Linked DNA regions of Homo sapiens: region 2 is linked to region 1. The links are contacts of gene promoters, found by promoter capture Hi-C in human tissues and cell types (Jung and others, 2019). All regions are on one chromosome and are shown on one strand. The core of a region is centred on a gene start or on the middle of the fragment in contact, and the rest is flanking DNA. Distances in the headings are between cores, read along the strand shown.

The links. The method cuts DNA at HindIII sites, captures the fragments that hold promoters and counts their contacts. A contact is called where the count stands out against the background at its distance.
Region 2: a fragment that was not itself captured here is called in contact with the fragment with the promoter of CACNG5 in region 1 in 2 of the 25 tissues and cell types used here (H1 embryonic stem cells and mesendoderm cells).

What each region holds. Positions count from the first base shown.
Region 1 is chr17:66,831,391-66,837,201 of GRCh38, forward strand. It overlaps CACNG5 (calcium voltage-gated channel auxiliary subunit gamma 5), which reads left to right and starts at 3,727. Exons shown (of 6, transcript NM_145811.3): 1 at 3,727-3,860. The HindIII fragment of the contact is 10,169 bases long and covers 1-5,811 here.
Region 2 is chr17:66,715,917-66,721,727 of GRCh38, forward strand. All of the region lies in intron 8 of PRKCA (protein kinase C alpha), which reads left to right. Among named protein-coding and RNA genes, the nearest start is that of MIR634, 68 kb to the right of the region's middle. The HindIII fragment of the contact is 6,574 bases long and covers 1-5,811 here.

The DNA of each region.
Region 1 (5,811 bases), core at 2,477-4,976:
ACTAGAAGATACATACAGCTCATGCTATGTGGCTGCCAGAGGTCAGTAAGGAATCTCTACTCCTCGTCATCACGTGGGAGTTCAGAGTGACAGAGTGCCATCTTGACAACTGTCTCCACAATCCCAAAGGCAGAGAGACGAGCATGGCAAAGCACTCAGTGATTCCGAAAGCTTCCACCTGGAAGTGACACATGTCACCACCTCCACCCCCAAGGGACCAGAAGGAGGCTGCCTGGCTGGAAGACATTTCCTCCTCCTAGACATAACTGGGCCTCTTCCTTGTCATCCACACAGGCACATTCTGCAAATAATGTGCACATGGATGTGTGTTTCTCATTAAGATCTAATGAGTGAAGCCATCAGATTTGTTCAGACTGGCCCAGGATTCAGAGAGAGAGCTGAGGTTTTATGAAACTCCCCTACCAATGGGGAATCCATGAATTATTAAAAGGATAGAAAAAGAGACCCAGGGTGGAAGGGCTGCTCCATTATTCATCAGGCCTGGAGTCCCCAAATCCCCAAGCACAGCTGTTGGCTTTTACACCTACAGCATTTTCCCATTATGTCTACAGTCAGCCTTTCAAACACGCCGTATTGGCAGCCTCCGAGCAGTGCTCCCGCCCACGTCACCCACTGCCTGTCTCATTATCTGAACCAGTCCGCGGCCCAACCGTGGGACACAGATGTTGGTGTTGCTCACCCACCTTCACGTCCCAGGCTCCCTGATCACAGACCTGAGGGCCTGAGGGCCAAGCTCCTTACAAGAACTGGGAGCCTCTCCCACTCTGGCCCCAGTTGTCTCTTCAGTTTTGTCTCCCTCCATTTCCCATGCCCACCCTACCTCAGACCATTTGCCTTTCCCTGAATGTAATTTCATATTCTCAGGCCTTCGTCTAGGATGACCCCTTTGCCTGAAACTCCCTTCCCAGCCCTCTGTCTACCTGGTGAATTTCTATTTATCATTTACGGCCAGATCAGAGGAAGGGAAACTAACTTTTGCTGAGAGCCCCCAATGTGTCAGACCCTTGTGCAAACATGATCTCGCTTTCGCAAACCAGTGAGGTTGGCGTTATCACCAGCATCAGAGACATAATTTTATGGAGTCCGGTGCAACAATTAAGATGTAGCCCCTTGTTGAAAACTGATTAAGAATTTCGAGATGGCAAAATCAGATCATCAAACCAGGCACAGAGCTTTCCTAAGAGCAAGGCTTTGAGAACCATGAAGCCAGCTTTGGTTATCGAGAAGTGAACGAAAGCTCAGAGAGGTTAAGTAACTTGTCCAAGGTCACACAGCTAGTTGGGGCAGAGCCACGTTGAAGACCTCATTCCATCAGATCCAAATTGCTGTTTTTCAACCACCCATGTTGTGGGGACTTCCCCACTTGCCTTGGGCAGAATGACTGGGGAGGAGGCTTTGAGCACCCCTGGACACTATCTTCCTTTTTTTTTTTTTTTTTTTTTTTTTGAGATGGAGTCTTGCTCTGTCACCCAGGCTGGAGTGCAGTGGCGCAATCTCGGCTCACTGCAAGCTCTGCCTCCCAGGTTCATGCCATTCTCCTGCCTCAGCCTCCCGAGTAGCTGGGACTACAGGCGCCTGCCACCATGCCTGACTAATTTTTTTGTGTGTTTTTTAGTAGAGATGGGGTTTCACCATGTTAGCCAGGGTGGTCTTGATCTCCCGACCTCATGATCTGCCTGCCTTGGCCTCCCTAAGTGCTGGGATCACAGGCATGAGCCACCGCGCCCGGCCACTAGCTTCCCTTTTGAAGGGTGTTTTCTGCAACCAATTGATCTGTTATTTCTCCATAAGCATTGCAAGATGATCCAGAGAATAGGGTCACACAGATCAAAAAGGGGGCCTATCTAGGGGGCAAGTGGACATTCTGGGATTGTTCAATTAACCCACAAGGGAGGACATTCCCTCTTCCACCCACCCCTTTCCTCACACCCAACACCAGGCAGTCTGCTCACCCCCACTCCATACACTTACTCTTCAATGGCTGGAGGACATGGCGACGGCCCGCAGAGGTGACCCACAGGGCATGGATCCCAGGCCAGCCTCTCTGGCCTTTGCTGGGAAAATGACCTGCAGACTTTGCAAAAGGCACATCTCCTGGGTGCTTTGCCCGTTTTCATCTTTTCATTTCATTGATCCAGCCACCTCTGAGGTTTTCTTTGGTGGTTTTCTCCTTGACAGCTTTAGTCTTGGGGAGATGTGTCCAACTTCCAGTCATTCATTCAGCAAATACAATGTGCCTACTATGCGTCAGACTTTCTCCTTTTAAGGGGCTCCCAGCATAGTTAGGGAGATTGACAGTAAATTCATCATTGCCATACTGGTGAGAGCTGTGCAAGAGGCTCCTGGGCCCAGAGACGAAGAAGAAGAAATCCATTCTTGGATTTCCATCAGGGTATTCTGGGGGATAGAGAAGAACACTCTTGGGGTAGGTGGGAAAAGGGAGAAAAAGCGGAAAACTGCATAGGCCTAAAATGCTGTGAATAGACACGTGGTGTATCCTTTCCAAAAACCTTCAGTTGTCCCAACTCCACCTGGCCCCATTCACATGTGACAAAGTCCTCCCATGTCAGGAGACCTCAGCAACATAGATGCTTCTATAAAAGTTTCTGCCCTACAGTTTTAAACTAATATGTTCACTGCTGATGTCTCATTATTTAGCAACCAACTTTGCCCCCAAATATTTCCACATGCCACATCTTTGACCCCCTCTTGGTCTGCAGGGATTTTACAGGCCTTTGAGGGGAAGCTGCTGGTCTGTGAGCATCTGCACAAGTGTGCCGGACAAAGATATCGGTCAGGCTGCCATTTCAAAGCAATAAAAGATATGTGGCTATGCAGGCCAGGAAGAGTTAGCCCTTGGGTTCCCCTTCCAACCTGGCTGACCACACTGGCTCCAGCTGCCACTTTCAAATTAGTCATAGATTAACAAACATCTATTGAGCACCTATTGGGTGTCCAGGACCCAGAGACTAAAGGAGACATAGAACCTAAGAAAGGAAGAAATGTTTTATTGTTAGTTGCCACCATTTATTGGACATATATTACCATTTTACTGTTAAGAGGGACAAACACTTTGCTTAAGGCCACACAGTACAAAAGCAGAGTGGGGCTTTAAAGGCTCAGATTCTGCACTTAGACAGGCCTGAGCTGCAGTCCTGGCTCTGCCATTTTCCAGCTGTGTGTCCTCAGACTCCTCACTTAAGCGCCCTGTGCCTCAGTCTTCTCATCTGTAAAATGGGATTCGTGTGAGAATTAAATGACTTAATACATGTGAAGCTCATTGAACGCTTACACTAGTAAGTGCTCAATAAATACTAGCTGGCATTGTTGTTCTATCACCATCATCATCATCATCATCATCATCATCATCCTTATTTAAAAGCAGCAGCAACGGCAGAGGCTGCAGCCCCAGCTGCTGGAATTTGAAGGTGAGTCTGACTCCAGGCAGGGTCTCCCAGCCCTATGCGGACTCTGAAAGCCTCTCCTCTCCCACGCCGGCCCCCAACTCTTCACCTGCCACCCCCACAAGGGTGCTCACCCCAGAGGTGCTCACCTCCCGGGCTGGGAGACCGCATCTGACCGGTCCCAAACCCCGCCTGCAGCTGGCAGCGCCGGGGTGGGGAGGCCCCGCCCTCGGCCCCGCCCCCTGCCCGCCCCTCCCTCTCGGGGTCCGGGGCGCGAGCTGCGGCGGCGGCGGCCACGGTCATTGGCGCCGAGCGGTTCCGGCTGACTGGACGGGGCGGGCGTCCCGGGCAGCCTAGCGCGGTACCTCCCGCCCCGCGCGCCCAGCCGGCGAGGGACATTGGACCAGGGTCGGGGGTCGCGGCCGCTCCAGCGAGGTAAGAGCCGGGAAGACCGGGAGAGACCACCTCTTCCATCCTGGGGGGGTCCCTGGGGGACGGTCTCCCACCGGTGCTGGGCCGCGGCGCCGGGCTGCGCCCCCATGACAGCCCAGCCAGGGGCAGGGGCTGGAGAGCCCTAGCGATCGCGCACCCTGGAAGGGGCAGTGTGGTGGGGAGCGCGGGCGTGTGTATGCGCGTGTGCGTGTGTCTGTCTGTCCATCTGTCTGTCCCAAGGATGTATCGGGGGAGATGATGACGCCCCCTCTTTGCAGTCGCTTCTAGGCAATTTACCCATGCCAAAGCTGAGGGCAGACTTTTCCACGACGGACTTGAATGGGGCTGGCAGATTATTATCCGGATAATGCAGGAAGGGATAAGCCCACCACCACCTGTTGAGCTGGGCTGTCGGCCTATGCGGGTCCAACTCCCCGCTTATCACAGCCTGCAGGGTGGCCTCATTTCTCCAGCTCGTGGGACCCGGGGCTTCCTTCTCCCGCCTGTGAGAAGGGTTGATAGGAGGAGGTGTCCCTGCCAGGAGCCACTGAGCAGAGATGGACTCGCGGGGGTGATCAGGGTGGTGCTATGGGGACCCCACCGCAGGTGCTGGGCGTGAGGTGTCAACCACCCAGGCACACCCCAAATTTGGATTTCCCCAATCACTCCAAAACCTCTCATTGTGATTCCCCGATCTTTGCTCTCATCCTAATTTGGCAGTTGATGAAGATGCAGCTCGTTAAAAATGTTAAAGTGAAATCAAATTATCACTTCCTAGGACTGAAAATGATTTGAGAAATAATTCCGGGAGCCTGGCTGGGGAGGAAAGAAGCTCATATTCTGACTAGCTTCTCCAGGGCTGCCCCGGGGCTGCCTCCGGTACCTGCCAGGCACGCCGGTGGTTAAGGAAGCCCTTGTTCCCAGAAAGGAAGGGATTCACCCACTTTGCACTGGATTATCAGTGACTGGGTTAGAGCAGGACCCAGGACAGGATCCCCAAGTGGGAGCTGTCTCAGTTTGACAGATGTCACATACAAGCTGTCACCGAGGCTGGCTTCTGCTCCACATCCATCCTGGGGAACACAAGATGGGGCTTCCCCTCCCAGCCACCTCACACCCATTCCCCTCATTTCCACAAACCTGAAGTCTTGATCAATTAACAGCCAGGATTGCCTGGGTGTGGGTGTGGGACCTTGATTGGCTCTGATGTCCTGGATTCAGAGTATCTCAGGACCACAGGCATCTCAGTGGCAGGTTGGTGGCACCTCTTTGCAGACCCTGTAGCCAGCCCCTCATGCCGAAGTCTCCTGCCTGCCTGAGAAGCCCTAGATCTGCCTCACTTCTCTGCTAACGCAGCCCCTGGAGGTAGCTGGGGGACACCTCATCTCAGGGCCAGGTCCCCAGGGTGCCTAACAGGGTGAAATCTGTGCTTGTGCCTGAGACCTCCCCACCCCCAAACCTCCTCTCTCTTGTCATGTGGAAGGCAGTGGATGTGCTGAGGGGCTGGGTAGTCCAGTTCAACGGAAGATAGAGGTGGCCCTGCTGTGGCTGGGGCTGTTGGTGATGTGAGAACCCCAGCATCCTGGCTGGCTGCACCCCAGGCCCCACAAGCCAACAGCACACTTGAGGGAGCTCAGCCATTCTCAGGCTTGTCAGCTGGGGCTCTGTGACTTGGTGCAGGGGGAGATTGGCTGAATTGTTCACGCTTGTTTGGAAGAGACTGGCCTTAGGTTGTTGTGGAAAACGTCGGCTCCAAACCCTGCTAGGTTCCTGACTGTGTGACACTGGCCAACTTACAGAATGCTTGGAGGCTCAGCCTCCTCACCTGTAAGATGGGTCTGGCAGGGGGTTTTGAGAATCAAGTAAGGTCATGAATGAATGACAGTGTCCATTTTACTGGAGGTGGTTCTGGGCTGGTGTTGTGGCCTCTGCTTTCTCTAGCCCCCAGCTTGAC
Region 2 (5,811 bases), core at 1,602-4,101, 120 kb before region 1:
CAAATGAAAGATTCCATGACACCTGCACACAACAAACAGCAATCAACTGTTGCCTGGATGTCTTTACATTTTAGTGGACATAGAGATGAGATCACCACCTTGTGCTCCCCATTGCTTCTTGGCTTTAGAGGATCTTCAGTGTGCTGCAAAGAAGTCAAGGGTTTCCCAAGAGCTGGATGGCTCCTTCAGTCTATTCTTGCTTGCACTGGGCCCCAGCCCATTTTCTATCTCCCCGGGTTTTTTTTTTTAGCACCAGAGAATTACCCACTTCGAAGCCATGTTGCTGACAGTCTGAAAAACTATTTACTTTGATGATGTTTCTGAGTTCATGTGATTCTTGACCCTGCCACAGCCAACCCATAAAGCCAGTGTGGTGGTAATTCCAAAGGGGAGCATTCGAGCAGGAAAAGGAATAGGTTTCCAAAAATGATTAAGTGCCCAAAGTTCTCGAACAATGCTATGTCATGGCTGTTGCAGTGCGCACTGGGCCTTCCTCTAAGCCGGGCATCAGACGCAAGTGTGCCATCAGCTAGCTCCCTGGTGGGAGAAAAACATTGTTGCAGATGGAAAAACTTAAGGTCATTGGTGGGGAATCCTCATGTAAGCCTGGAGATTTAGCAATTGGGGAGAACGCGGTACAAGGGCAAACCGCCTTTCCAGGAGGTGTTTAGCAGGTGAGACAAGGCGTGCACCACCAAGATTAGCGATCCTAACAGATGTGTCAATTATCAACAGACAAATCTGGGAAACAGGGAAAAATTTGGTTGGCTGCAAAGAAAATCACACACCGGGATACTAGAGGTGAATATTATGTGGTATGAAAAGAACCAAGCACTTCGCAGTTTCCACATCTGGCAAAGTGCCAACACGTCAGGGTCCCACGTTTCTCCTTGGAGAATGGCTCAGTTGCCATGACAACGGAGGCCCTCTCGCTGCCTGTGAATTTATTTTAACCGTGGCAACAGCCAAAGTGGGTGTGTCCATGAAAATATTTCTTGTTAAGAAAACGATTGAATGTGTTGCCCTTACATTTTGCTCTGCTGAATACATACTTCATTCACCACCATTGTATGGCTGCAAAATTTCCTTTTCCTGTGCTGCCTGGCATAGCAAGCATTGTGGAAGAGCCTGAATAGTGATTTAATTCTAGTGCTCTTGAGATTCTTAATTGTCGCTGTTGTGATAGATTAAGAAGATACAGACATTGTACTGAAATCTAACTGCAAATGAGGATGAGTGATTTGAGAACCTGCGTGATACAGGGCAAGGGTCATCGAACTGCAATCCACAGCCCAGACCCCAGCGGCTGCCTGTCTTCACCATTAAGGCTTTATTGGAACACCTTCCCTCCTTTACTCACTTTTGCAGCTTTCGAGCTACAATGGCAGAGTTGGAGAGTTACAACAGAGACAGTATTTGGCCCACAAAGCCACAAATATTTACTATCTGGACCTTTACAGAAAAAGTTTGCTCACCCTCGATGTAGGAGGAAGAGCACTAGGTTCAAAGGCTGGAGTTCTGGATTCAGAGCTCAGGATGGAAAACTGATTTAGACATATCGCGGTGCCCCCTGGGCTCATTCTCCTCATCTGTAACATGGGCAGCCTTGATGAGACTATCCCCAAGTTGCTTTTGAATTCTAAAAGCTCTGTCATCCTCCTGCTGTTAGTCAAAGATTACAGCCCAGATGGGGCAACCTTAGCACAGGGAAACGTACGGGATGATCCAGCATCTAGTTTCAGGGCCTCTGTAGAGAACAGAGCGTCCTTCTCTTCCTCCACCAGCACTGCCACGAAGCGGCGCAGAGGCTGTGGTGAAGTTAGCTCTCTAGACCTCAGCATCTTCATCTGCATCCTAGGCAGGTCAGACTCCCCAGGGACCCTTCTGTGGCTGACAGTCTGTGGTTCTGAGGCCCTCGCTGCAGTTGCCAGCAGGAGAAAGAATGACTCATGCCTGTGATTTGCTGGTCACCTGTGATTCCCGCCTCCGGGAGAAAACTCCAAGTAGCAGGTGTTGACCCAGTTGTGTGGGAGGAATCACCCAGGCCCTTATTTCCAGGTTGCACTTACAGATCGGATTGTGCAACCAGAAAAATGCCGTCAGAAGGAAGTGGGGTGGCTTGGGGGACTGACTTACTAAGGATCACTGTTAAGCTCTCCATACAAATTAGCTCCCCTTCTGTCTTAGTCCACTCGGGCTGCTATAGCAAAATACCATAAACTGCATGGCTTACAAACTGCATATGTTTCTCTCTCTTAGTTCTGAATGCTGGGAAGTCTAAAATCAAGGCAGGTGAGGTGTCTGGTGAAGGCTCACTTTCTGATTCACAGATGGCATCTTCTGGCTTTGCCCACACATGGTAGATGGGATGAGGAGCCTCTCAGGCCTCTTTTTATTAAAGTTTTTATTATTTAGAGACAGGGTCTCATTCTGATGCCCAGGCGGGAGTGCAGTGGCACAATCACTGTTCACTGCATCCTCGAATTCCTGGGCTCAAGCAATCCTCCTGCTTCAGCCTCCCGAGTAGCTAGGACTACAGGTGCACGCCACTGTGCCTGGCTAATTTTTAAAATTATTTTTTGTAGAGATGGGGGTCTCACTGTGTTGACTAGGCTGTTCTCAAACTCCCAGCCTCAAGCTATCTTTCTGCCTCAGCCTTTCAAAAATGCTGGGATTAGAGGCATCAGCCTGGGATCACACCCAGCTTCCAAGGCCTCTTTTATAAGGGCACTAATCCCATTCGTGAGGGATCCACCCTCATGACCTAGTCACCTTCCAAAGGCCCTGCCTCCTGACACCATCATCTTGGGGCTAAGGATTTCAACATGTGAATTTGAGGGAGACACATTCAAACCATAGCACCTTCCAAGACCACTTTCTGTGTTGTGGAAGAAAAGATGTGTTTTTGTTTTGACATCTGAACATAAAACACATATACACAGCCACATGTGAGAAAGAAGTACAGTTAAAAATTCCAACTGTGAATTTAGACACACAACCCAAAAGAAACCAAGAGCCTGCCTTCAGGAATTAGGCTGCCTTGACTCTGGGCTTCTTCCTCTTCTCTTTGACTATTCATGGTGAGATTAAAATGTCTGTCCTTGTGCAGCTGGGCACAAGGGTACTTGTTTGTGACCTCCCCAAAAAGGTCACAAACAAGTAATTAATGTTTCATTCATCCAGGAATCTATCCTGGGGACTTCAAGGATGCACACATATTTAGACCACAAAATTGTTCATCTGCATGTCATTGAAAACAGAACTAGGAAAAACCTAGGTGTCTAACAATAAGGAATGGTTACATCAGCTACAGTAGAGCCGTGTAGTAGGATATGATGCAGTCACTCAAATCATGTGGCAGAAGAGTGCTTATAACCAGAAGTTCACAATAAGCAAAGGGGAGAAGCAGGTTACAAACAATCTGATTCTATCTGTATCACATAGGAAATCATGAAAAGAAAGGATTAGGAAAATGTCCACCAGAATGTTATTAATGATTACCTCTGGGTAATAAAATTATAAGATTTTAGTATATATGCTGCCAAAATGAGTATAAAATTTTAGATGTTTTAGGCCAGCCGTGGTGGCTCACATCTGCAATCCCAGCACTTTGGCCGAGGTGGGTGGATCACTTGAGGTCAGGACCTCGAGACCAGCCTGGCCAACATGGTGAAACCCCGTCTCTACTAAAAATACAAAAATTAGCCAGGCATGGTGACATGTTCCTGTAATCCCAGCTACTCAGGAGGCTGAGGTGCGAGAATCGCTTGAACCCAGGAGGCAGAGGTTGCAGCAAGCCAAGATCACACCGCTGCACTCCTGTCTGGAAGATAGAGCGAGACTCCGTCTCAAAAATAAATAAAAATAAAATTATAGATGTTTTAAATTTTGTTCTCTTTTTTCTGATGTATCCATGCCTGTTAGATTTTCTAAAATGAGCAGGTATACTTTTACAACAAGAGGCAGCCTTGCTGTAGAAATTATTTTAAAGCAACATTTCTGCCTCTTAAAAATGTTATATGAAAAGCTGCCTTCCCCATATACTCTACTCATTGCTTCTGCAAATATTTGAGGACCACCATGCCCCAAACACCATCCTAGGCACTGGAGCTGTGCCGGGGAACAAAACAGACGAGCCGTGCGTGCTCATCCCAGTGGCCGAAGAAAGTAACAAACAAGTAGAGAAATACAGGATTGGTAATGAGAAGAGAGGGAGGGAGTATGCACCACAGAAACCGGTGCAGGGACAATGTCAGAAGGAGTAGGGAGCCTCGGGGCTAAAGCATCCTTTGAGCAGAGATAGAAGGGAGTCCCGTGCCTATCTGGGTCAGAGGAAGTGCCCAACTGCAAAGGCCCTCAGGCGGCAGCGTGCTTGGCGTGTCCCAGCAGATGAAGTATTGAGCCAGAGAACAGCGGACATTTTATTTACTCTAACTGTGCTACCCAGGAGGCTGTCATGCCCATTAAGTAGCATCATTTTAACCTGTTGCCCCGTTACCGAGTAGAAGATAATAGATATCATGACTTGGAGCTTATTAGAAATACACAGGCCATATTCCACTAACGATACCGTGAAAACCCTCAGTTCCTTTGTGGCTTTCTGCTTCGAAACACTTGATCTCTCTTAACTAACGTTGCAGTGGGTGCAGGTAAAGGCATTACCTTAGAGGTATGATGCTGTGCTGGGCATCCTTGGTTATATATGGCATGGCTATTTCTGTTAACCATGCCCTGTTACATGGAATAGCAATGAATCACCATCAGTGTTGTTTTGCCAGTGTTGTTCAGATTAGCTGTGAATACAGAGGACTTTCATCGTTGTACAAAAAATGGTAGGAGAAATCCACAATTATTCATTTGTTCCTATGGTTGGTCATCGTTGGCCTGTCCGTGGAATCTTAGAAGTAGAAAGAAGCTTCTGTTGTCATCTCTCCACACGTTGCAACTGTCTTTGATAAGTATATTACTCAAAGCCTTATTTTCGAGAATGCTAAGAGATCATGTATTTTTGAAGACATATTTACAAAATAGGTGAGAATGAACACATTTAAAGTGGAATGTAGTTACGTTACTGGAAAGAAGTCCCAATCCAGACCCCAAGAGAGAGTTCTTGAATTTCATGGAAGAAAGAATTTGGGGCAAGTCCACAGAGTAAAGTGAAAGCAAGTTTACTAAGAAAGTAAAGGAATAAAAGAATGGGCCGGGTGCAGTGGCTCACACCTGTAATCCCAGCACTTTGGGAGGCCGAGGCGGGCGGATCATGAGGTCAGGAGATCGAGACCATCCTGGCTAACATGGTGAAACCCCGTCTCTACTAAAAATACAAAAAAATTAGCCAGGCATGGTGGTGGGCACCTGTAGTCCCAGCTACTCAGGAGGCTGAGGCAGGAGAATGGCGTGTATCCGGAGGTGGAGCTTGCAGTGAGCCGAGATCGGGCCACTGCACTCCAGCCTGGGCAACAGAGCAAGATTCCGTCTCAAAAAAAAAAAAAAAAAAGAATGGCTACTCCATAGGCAGAGCAACCCCCAAGAGCTGCTGGTTGGCTATTTTTATGGTTATTTCTTGATCATATGCTTTAAAAGGTGTGGATTATTCATGAGTTTTCTGGGAAAGGGGCAGGCAATTCCCAGCACTGAGGGGTCCTTCCCTTTTTAGACCATACGGGGTAACCACTGGATGTTACCATGGCATTTATAGACCATCATGGCACTAGTGGGAGTGTCTTTTAGCATGCTAATGTATTATAATTAGCATATAATGAGCAGCAAGGAAGCCAGAGGGTCGCTTTCCTCGCCATCTTGATTTTGGCA